2 separate regions of the Homo sapiens genome follow, and region 2 is linked to region 1. Evidence: promoter capture Hi-C in human tissues and cell types (Jung and others, 2019). All regions are on one chromosome and are shown on one strand. Each heading gives the region's core, a stretch centred on a gene start or on the middle of the fragment in contact. The rest is flanking DNA. Distances are from core to core; before and after follow the strand shown.

The links. The method cuts DNA at HindIII sites, captures the fragments that hold promoters and counts their contacts. A contact is called where the count stands out against the background at its distance.
Region 2: a fragment that was not itself captured here is called in contact with the fragment with the promoter of ST14 in region 1 in 2 of the 25 tissues and cell types used here (dorsolateral prefrontal cortex and spleen).

What each region holds. Positions count from the first base shown.
Region 1 is chr11:130,158,285-130,161,837 of GRCh38, reverse strand. It overlaps ST14 (ST14 transmembrane serine protease matriptase), which reads right to left and starts at 2,056. Exons shown (of 19, transcript NM_021978.4): 1 at 1,778-2,056. The coding sequence starts at 1,858. RefSeq lists an enhancer at 321-820 and silencers at 1,908-1,977, 2,058-2,177. The HindIII fragment of the contact is 3,998 bases long and covers 1-3,068 here.
Region 2 is chr11:130,292,254-130,295,994 of GRCh38, reverse strand. The region is part of intron 1 of ZBTB44 (zinc finger and BTB domain containing 44); the gene reads left to right. It also overlaps the pseudogene DDX18P5. Among named protein-coding and RNA genes, the nearest start is that of ZBTB44, 21 kb to the left of the region's middle. RefSeq lists an enhancer at 1-384. The HindIII fragment of the contact is 9,295 bases long and covers 1-3,741 here.

The DNA of each region.
Region 1 (3,553 bases), core at 807-3,306:
ACATCTTACTGGTCTCTGAGAGCCTTCCCTTCACCCATGGGACTAGGTACTGAGTTAGTTCAATAAAGCTCGGCAGGAGAAAAGACAAAGAGCAAGCCAAGAGAATGAAAATGGCAGAGGGGGAAGGAACAGCCCAAGGGCGCAGAGAGCAAATGAGCTTCGCAGAGGAGGAGGAAATGAGCAGGGATGGGGGAAACTAAAGCCAGGGCTTGCAGGTGACAAGACAAGTCCGCTGAATGTGGGATCCTGGGGGTGAGTGGAAGGTGAGCCCCAGCCTGGCTGCTTGTCAGGTGGTGAGATGGCTCAGAGAGGAGGCTGGACCACACGACCAGGAAGACCCTGCTTTCCCCGTGTGGGCAGGAGAGTCCTAGAAAGGGAAGTCAGGGAGAACAAACTTGGGGTGGGGGCACCGGACTGCCCTGAAATAACAAATTCCAAACAGCAGGTTCTCTGCTGAAGAGGCAGGGAGTCTAGAACCCCAAGTAGGCAATTAGCAAGGACACAAACATAGCAATTACAGCAAGGAAGAGAAGGTGAATCTGCCTCACAGCAGGGCACAGGCACAGCCAGGGGAAGGGCCCAAGCCTTCAGGTCCACTGGAAGCTTTCCTCCTTGCTGAGGGTGAAAAGTGGAGAAAATAGCAGAGCCCAGCCCCAGGTCCTGTCTGTGGTGCAGGCAGCCTCCAAAGCCCCAGCGTCTGATTTTCTGCAAGCTCCCTAGGTCGGGATGCTGCTTGGACAAAAGGAATTGATCTGAGACAGCACCAAAATCAGGCCTGACTTAGGGAGCAACGGCGGAGACTATGGAGCCCAGGGGCACCCGGAAGGAGGGGAGAAAGTGAGGGTTGGCAGGGCAGGGAGGCCATCATTTGCAGAGGAGCAAAACTCTCTGCCACACAGCCCCTGCCTCTCAGCGCCGCCCTGACCTGGTATGCCCTGGCCTTCCAGGAAACCTGGGGGTCTGCCTTGGACAGAGAGGGTAGAGACCTGGCTGCTGGTCCCGCCCGGGCACTACCACCTAGGTGGGTCCGTCAATGAAGTGACTAGCGACCCATCCCCAACTCCATACAGGAACATGTAATCTTTTTGAGATCTTTCAATAGGTCTTTCATTGTTCTTTCTGCCAAAGAAGAGCTTCCTGTTTCGGTACTTCGCAAAAGGCTCAAGACATGTGTGTTCCCACATCCCTTCCCATACAGCCGCCTTCCCAAAGGGCTCCATCCCCTCTCGAGAAGCCCAGGCAAGCCCAACTCTGGAGTTCTTAGCTCCAGCCCGTATGGCAGCCAAAGCCCTGGCCTCCCAGTTGTCCTCTGCGAGGTCCCAAAGCGCCTTTTGACGGGGAAGGAGAGAGACGAAAGAAACTTTCTGCAGAGGCCAAGGATGGCTGAGACTCCAAACCCTCCTGAAATTTCACTTCCTCCCAAATAACCCCACTCCAAGCCCCTGGTTTCTTCCAGATGTTCACTAACAGCGCGAGAGTCATGGAGGGGCCGAGACGGAGCCCCTTTTTTCAACTCAGGGAAAGAAAGGACCGAGGGCGCAGGAAGGCCCAGGGGCTTCCCGCCTCCCCCTGGCGGGGCGCAGCCGGTCCGGTACCAAAGGTCCGGCCAGCCCCGCCCGCCCGCGGCCCGGCACCCGCTGAACAGGAAATTCCACCTGTGCGCCCAGAGCTCGGCCACCGACGGACACGCCAGGGGAGCCGGCCGAGCCCAGCGCCGCGCTGCAGGGTCGGGCGGGCAGGAGCTTCCCAGCGCCCCGGGTCCCCGGCCCGCGCTCACCTCGTGCCGGGAGTTGTACTTGAGTCCCGCGCCGAAGTCCTTCGGGCCCCCTCCGCCCTTGCGGGCCCGATCGCTCCCCATGGTCCCCGAGGCCGCTCGCGGGTCTCACAGGCGTCGTCCCTGCCGGCGGCCGGCTCCCATGGCCCGCAGGGCGCGGGGCGCGGGGCGCAGGCGGCGGGATTCCGGGCAGGCCCAGCGCGCCCGACCGGCGGCGGTGCCCTCGCCCTGGCGCGCTCTCTCTCCCTCTTCCTCTTTCTCCGGCTGCAGCTCCGCTCTCACACTCCGGCCCGGCCCACGCAGGTAGTTTCAGGGTGTGGCCTCGGCCCGCCCAGCCCGCCGCGCTCGCCTGCGCACCTGCCCGGCTCACCTGCCCGCCCCCGCCGGCCCTGGGGGAGGCTCCTCCCCTCGGCTCTGGGCCTGAAGGTGAGGGGGCCTCACTCGGGTGGTGGTCGCTAAGGCCCTCACCATCACCACGACGGCGTTCACCACCCCTCCGGCCCTCCAGGGGCCCTGCCCCGGGAGGGCAGCCCTTTATCCACCTCCTTGATGCCAACCATCTTTTCCCTCCTCCCTCATGCGCCTCCGGTCTCTCCCCTTCACCTTGCTCACTTTGCTACAGGACTAAATCGCATTTATGAACCCCCCAAAACCAAACAGAAACCAGAACCGCCCCTGGCCCAGGCTCCCCGTCGGCTACGCAGCCTCCTGTTCTCCAGGCGGGAGGCGCTTGCTGGCCTGCGCCCGGCTACCCTGGGGAGGCCCAGTGACATGAGCTGTGCCACCAGATGCCCTCTGAGCCATCCCAACGCCCCTCGCCCACTTGCAGCATCTGATGCTTCCTCAAATGCCCCCTTTCCCTGGATTCCGGTCCTCCTTTCTAGTCCTAAATGTCATGATTCCCAAAGTTCTCCCTTCAGTTTCATCCCTTTCTTCTCTAAGCTTTTTCTCTTGGCAGCACGTCTCATCTTACGACTTCAGACAGGAAGACCTCCCTCCCAGCACAGACACCACCAAGGAGTGCCAGTTCTGCCTTAGCGGTCGCCTGGGGACGTCTCCATTTATGTTCTACTGTATTCTGTAGCCAATGAACATTACCAAGCACACACTAGGCGCTAAGCACTGTCCTGGGTACAGGGAAACAGGAGTGAACAAAATAAAAATCCCTGCTTTGAGATCAACAAGCCCCATCTTCCTTCCCTGACTTGCCCATTTTCCACTGTTTTCTCTAATTCTAATGGCAGCATTCTCCCAGGCTCAAATCCTGGAATCATCTTTGATTCTCCACCCTGCTTACATCTCATATCCAATTAGTTCCAAATCTGATCAAGACTCTGCTGACAAGCATAGCCCTTCCATTCCTGCGCATTAGAAGACCGCTATTCGAGTCCTCAGAGCCCTTTGCCTGGTTAAGAAAGATCTCCTGCCTCTGGGCTGCCACCCTCTGATCTCTCCTACACAAAGCAGTCAGGTAAATCTGAAACCACAGCTCCTTTATGACTTTCCGTGTCTCCCGGATCAAATCCAACCTCCTTAGCCCAGCTTCACACTCTGCCCTGTCCTCCCTTAACACCGTGCCTCCAAGCATTCCTGTTTGGAGCCCCTCTCTCCAGCCAGGCGTTCTGATCTTGGCAGCTTTCATAAAGCTTTTCATCCCCTGGAAGCTCTTCTCCTTCATACTCCTTCCGCATATTGGGTCGAAGACACCGATGGGGTTTTTTAGTGTTGTTCATTGAATGTTTTTAGCTCTCTGCCTTCTGGGCACAGGCCAGGGTGTTA
Region 2 (3,741 bases), core at 1,136-3,635, 130 kb before region 1:
ATATGATACAGCAGACGGCCTGGTGTGGCCACAGTGATGTTGATCCCATTAGCAAGTTTCTGTGCTTCAGCAGATCCGTTACTGCCACCCATTATCAACCCATAGGTATGCACGTGGTGAGTCTTTAGCTCCTTAAGAACACCAAAAATTTGCATGGCTAATTCTCTAGTAGGTGAGAGAACAAGGACTCCGCATGCATTCCTGGGCATGAATTTTAACAATGAGTTCTACTGCAGGTTTGAGAAAAGCCAGGGTTTTACCACTGCCTGTTTTTGCAGCTGCTAGAAGATCCCTGCCTTCCAGAAGTGGTCTGATACTTTCATGCTGAATTTCAGTCATGTTGGTAAAACCCATTTTTTTTTTTAACTTCAGAGTTTTCATTGACAATATTATGTAGAGAAGCAAATGAAGTATCCTCAAATGCTCCTGTGAGTCCCAGGGGCAGGCTGGGCACCTCACTGTCATCTTCATCATTATCTGGCTTCTCTACGTTATTTTCTGTTTCTTTAGGAGTCTCGGCACTTTCTTCTCAGATTCCTCTTTGTTTTCAGTTTTTGCTTTTTTTGTATCAGTCCCAGCATCATTCACCATTTTTCTCTTTTGATTCTGAATTGGGAGACTGCATTGCTGCTTCTCCATTGGTTAATACGGTGGATTTCTGGGGAGATTTTTTAGGTTTTATATCTTCCACTGCCTCTTGAGACATGTCTCCATTTGGAGCTTCTGATAAGCCCACATTCATAGAATGTTTTCATTTTTTAACCCTTCTACCTCTCATTGTTTCTTCAGACACATCTGCATTTTGAGTTTCTGACAGGGTCAGATTTGAGGCCCCTGCAACTTTAGGTTCTGGTGCCGCAGTTTGAGTTTCTGCTTCTTGATCTTCTTGCGCAGGAGTTTTTCATTGGCAGGTGAGACATTGCTGTCCAAGAAGTGCCTAGATCACGACGTCACACAGTACAGCTACTCAGTTCTCGGGGCTGACGTTGCTTCCACTTGTATACATATTTTAAAGCGTATATGCAGTTGAACTCTTGAGTACTTGGTGTGGACGCTTAAAAACTCTTTAGGGAAAATAAGGAGCTCTTTAAATGCTAGTTGACTAAAACTGACTTGAATTTTACTTGCTCATGTAAGGAGCCAAATGGATGAATAAGATAGATAGGCCCTCTATTCAGTCTTTCTTTCTAGATAAAATAATATGATGTGAATAGCAGATATCCCTTAAGTACTCTGATTAACCTGTTTTGCCTACCGTTCCATTATTGGAACACTAAGCATGTGGGAGTTATTTCTGTCCTGCTCAAGGTCATCGCTAAGGTCTGATTGCAAAAATTCAAATAATTGCAACCTCTGGCATAAATGGGTTAAATTATTATAAACAACAACATAATGGGGTGGGGAGAAATAACTGGGAATTGAAGATTTTTTTTTTTTTTTTTTTTTTTTTTTTTTTGGTCATATAGACCTTTGTGTAAATCCTGGTTTTGTTAACTTAGTTATAGGGAAATGGACAATTTAATTTGATTTTCTGTCTCCTCATTTAACACTGGATTTATTTTTATTTTTATTTTTATTTTTTTAAGACAGAGTCTCTCTCTGTCACCCAGGCTGGAGGGCAGTGGCGTGATCTCAGCTCACTGCAACTTCTGCCCCCCAGGTTCAAGCAATTCTTGTGCCTCAGGCGCCTGAGTAGTAGCTGGGGTTACAGGCGTGCACCACCACACCCAGCTAATTTTTGTATTTTTAGTAGAGACGGGGTTTCGCTGTGTTGGCCAGGCTGGTCTCAAACTCCTGGCCTCAAGAGATCCACCCATCTCGGCCCCACAAAGTACTGGGATTACAGGTGTGAGTTACCGTGCCCGGCCTATAACTGGATATAAAAAATCCTTTTACCAGAGTTTGTGAGTCCAGAGTGAGATAGTGACACTTGGTGGGAGTTATTCAATGTACATTAATTTATCTTCTCTTGATGTAGAAAGTAACAATCAGCATGACTTGGTGACTACTAACAAGGAGAGGAAATTCTAATCATTTAATGTTTCTGATTTAATTGATTTATTGATAACTCTCCATTACTTTTTCAAATCTCTGAACTAGAAAGGGCTTATTCATAGAGTAAAATGATTAGAATCTTTGTTTCATTGAAAAACAACTAGTTATAAAATGGTTTTTTTGTTTGTTTGTTTGTTTGTTTTGAGATGGAATTTCGCTTTTGTTGCCCAGGCTGGAGTGCAATGGTGCAGTCTTGGCCCACGGCAACCTCCGCCTCCCAGGTTCAACTGATTCTCCTGCCTCAACCTCCCAAGTAGCTGAGATGACGGCGTGCACCACCATACCCAGCTAATTTCTTTCTTTTTTTTTTTTTTTTTCTTTAAGTAGAGATGGAGTTTCATCATGTTGGCCAGGCTGGTCTCAAACTCCTGACCTCAGGTGATCCACCTACCTTGGCCTCCCAAAGTGCTGGGATTATAGGTGTGAGCCACCACACCCGGCCAAATGGTCTTTTTTTTTTTTTTTTTTGATACAAGATCTTGCTGTCATCCCGGCTGGAGTGCAGTGGTGAAATCACAGCTCACTGTAGTCTCAACCTCCCAGGCTCAAGTGATCCTCCTGCCTCAGCCTCTTGTGTAGCCAGGACTACAGGTGCACAGCACCACACTTAGCTAATTTTTTTTTTTTTTTTTTAATTTTTAGTAGAGACAAGTTCTCTCTGTGTTGCCCAGGCTGGTCTTGAACTCCTAGGCTCAAATGAGCTTCCTGCCTTGGCCTCCCAAAGTGCTGGGATTATATGCATGAGCCATTGTTCCAGGCCTAAAATTATCTTTTTACAACTCAGATAAAGTAGTCCATTTGAAATTCTCCTTGAAAACTTAAAAAACACTTAAGGGAAGTAAACTAGTGTGAAATAAAGATCACAAAACACTTTCAGTAGTGTTCAGAAAAAGAAAAAGCATGTTCCCAAATATGAGTTCTCATGTAAATCTAATCTAAAAACTTGGTTCATATCATGGGAAAATGCCTTTACTTAGATTGATAAGAGTGACAAGTTTAGAGCAAAATATAAAATATGAGGTACTGCTCTATTTGTAAAGTAAAAAAGAGTCTTAATAGTGAGAAACGTCTTATTTTAATAACTTTTGGTGGGGTGGGTGAGTTGTAATTTTCACTAGTTTGAGTACACGTATACATTTTCCATGTAAGTTTAACATGAAGTTTCTACGTTGAGCTGTGGTTCTTCCATTCCTAAATCAATTGTTTTAACAGGTTTCCTGCAAAACGTTTGTATGTTGTGTATGTTACACTCTTAAAATACTAATTTATATGTTTTGTTTATCATTTGCAATTAAGCTTTTAATAATAATGTGATTGAACATAAAAGAATAATACGCTTATCCCAAAAATAAGCACCGTAAATCAAGAACATTTATTCAGCAATTTTTCAATGCACACTTTTATTTATTTTTTTAATTTTTAATTTTTTTCTTATGATCTTGTTGCATACCAGTGTATGTACTCTTTTAGGCAGTTATAGAATATAGACAAGGCTCAGCCTTTTCTGTCAAGTCTCATTAGGCCCATGGGTGAGCAAAATCTGTAAACTACTTACTGATCACTTGTATGTAAAGTATTATACTGGTGGATAGTGACTTTTTTTATGGAATCACTGCAGTATAATAAGCCATATTAAGAGTATAACACATAAATGGTATAGAAACAGAAATAATTAAGAACATCTGC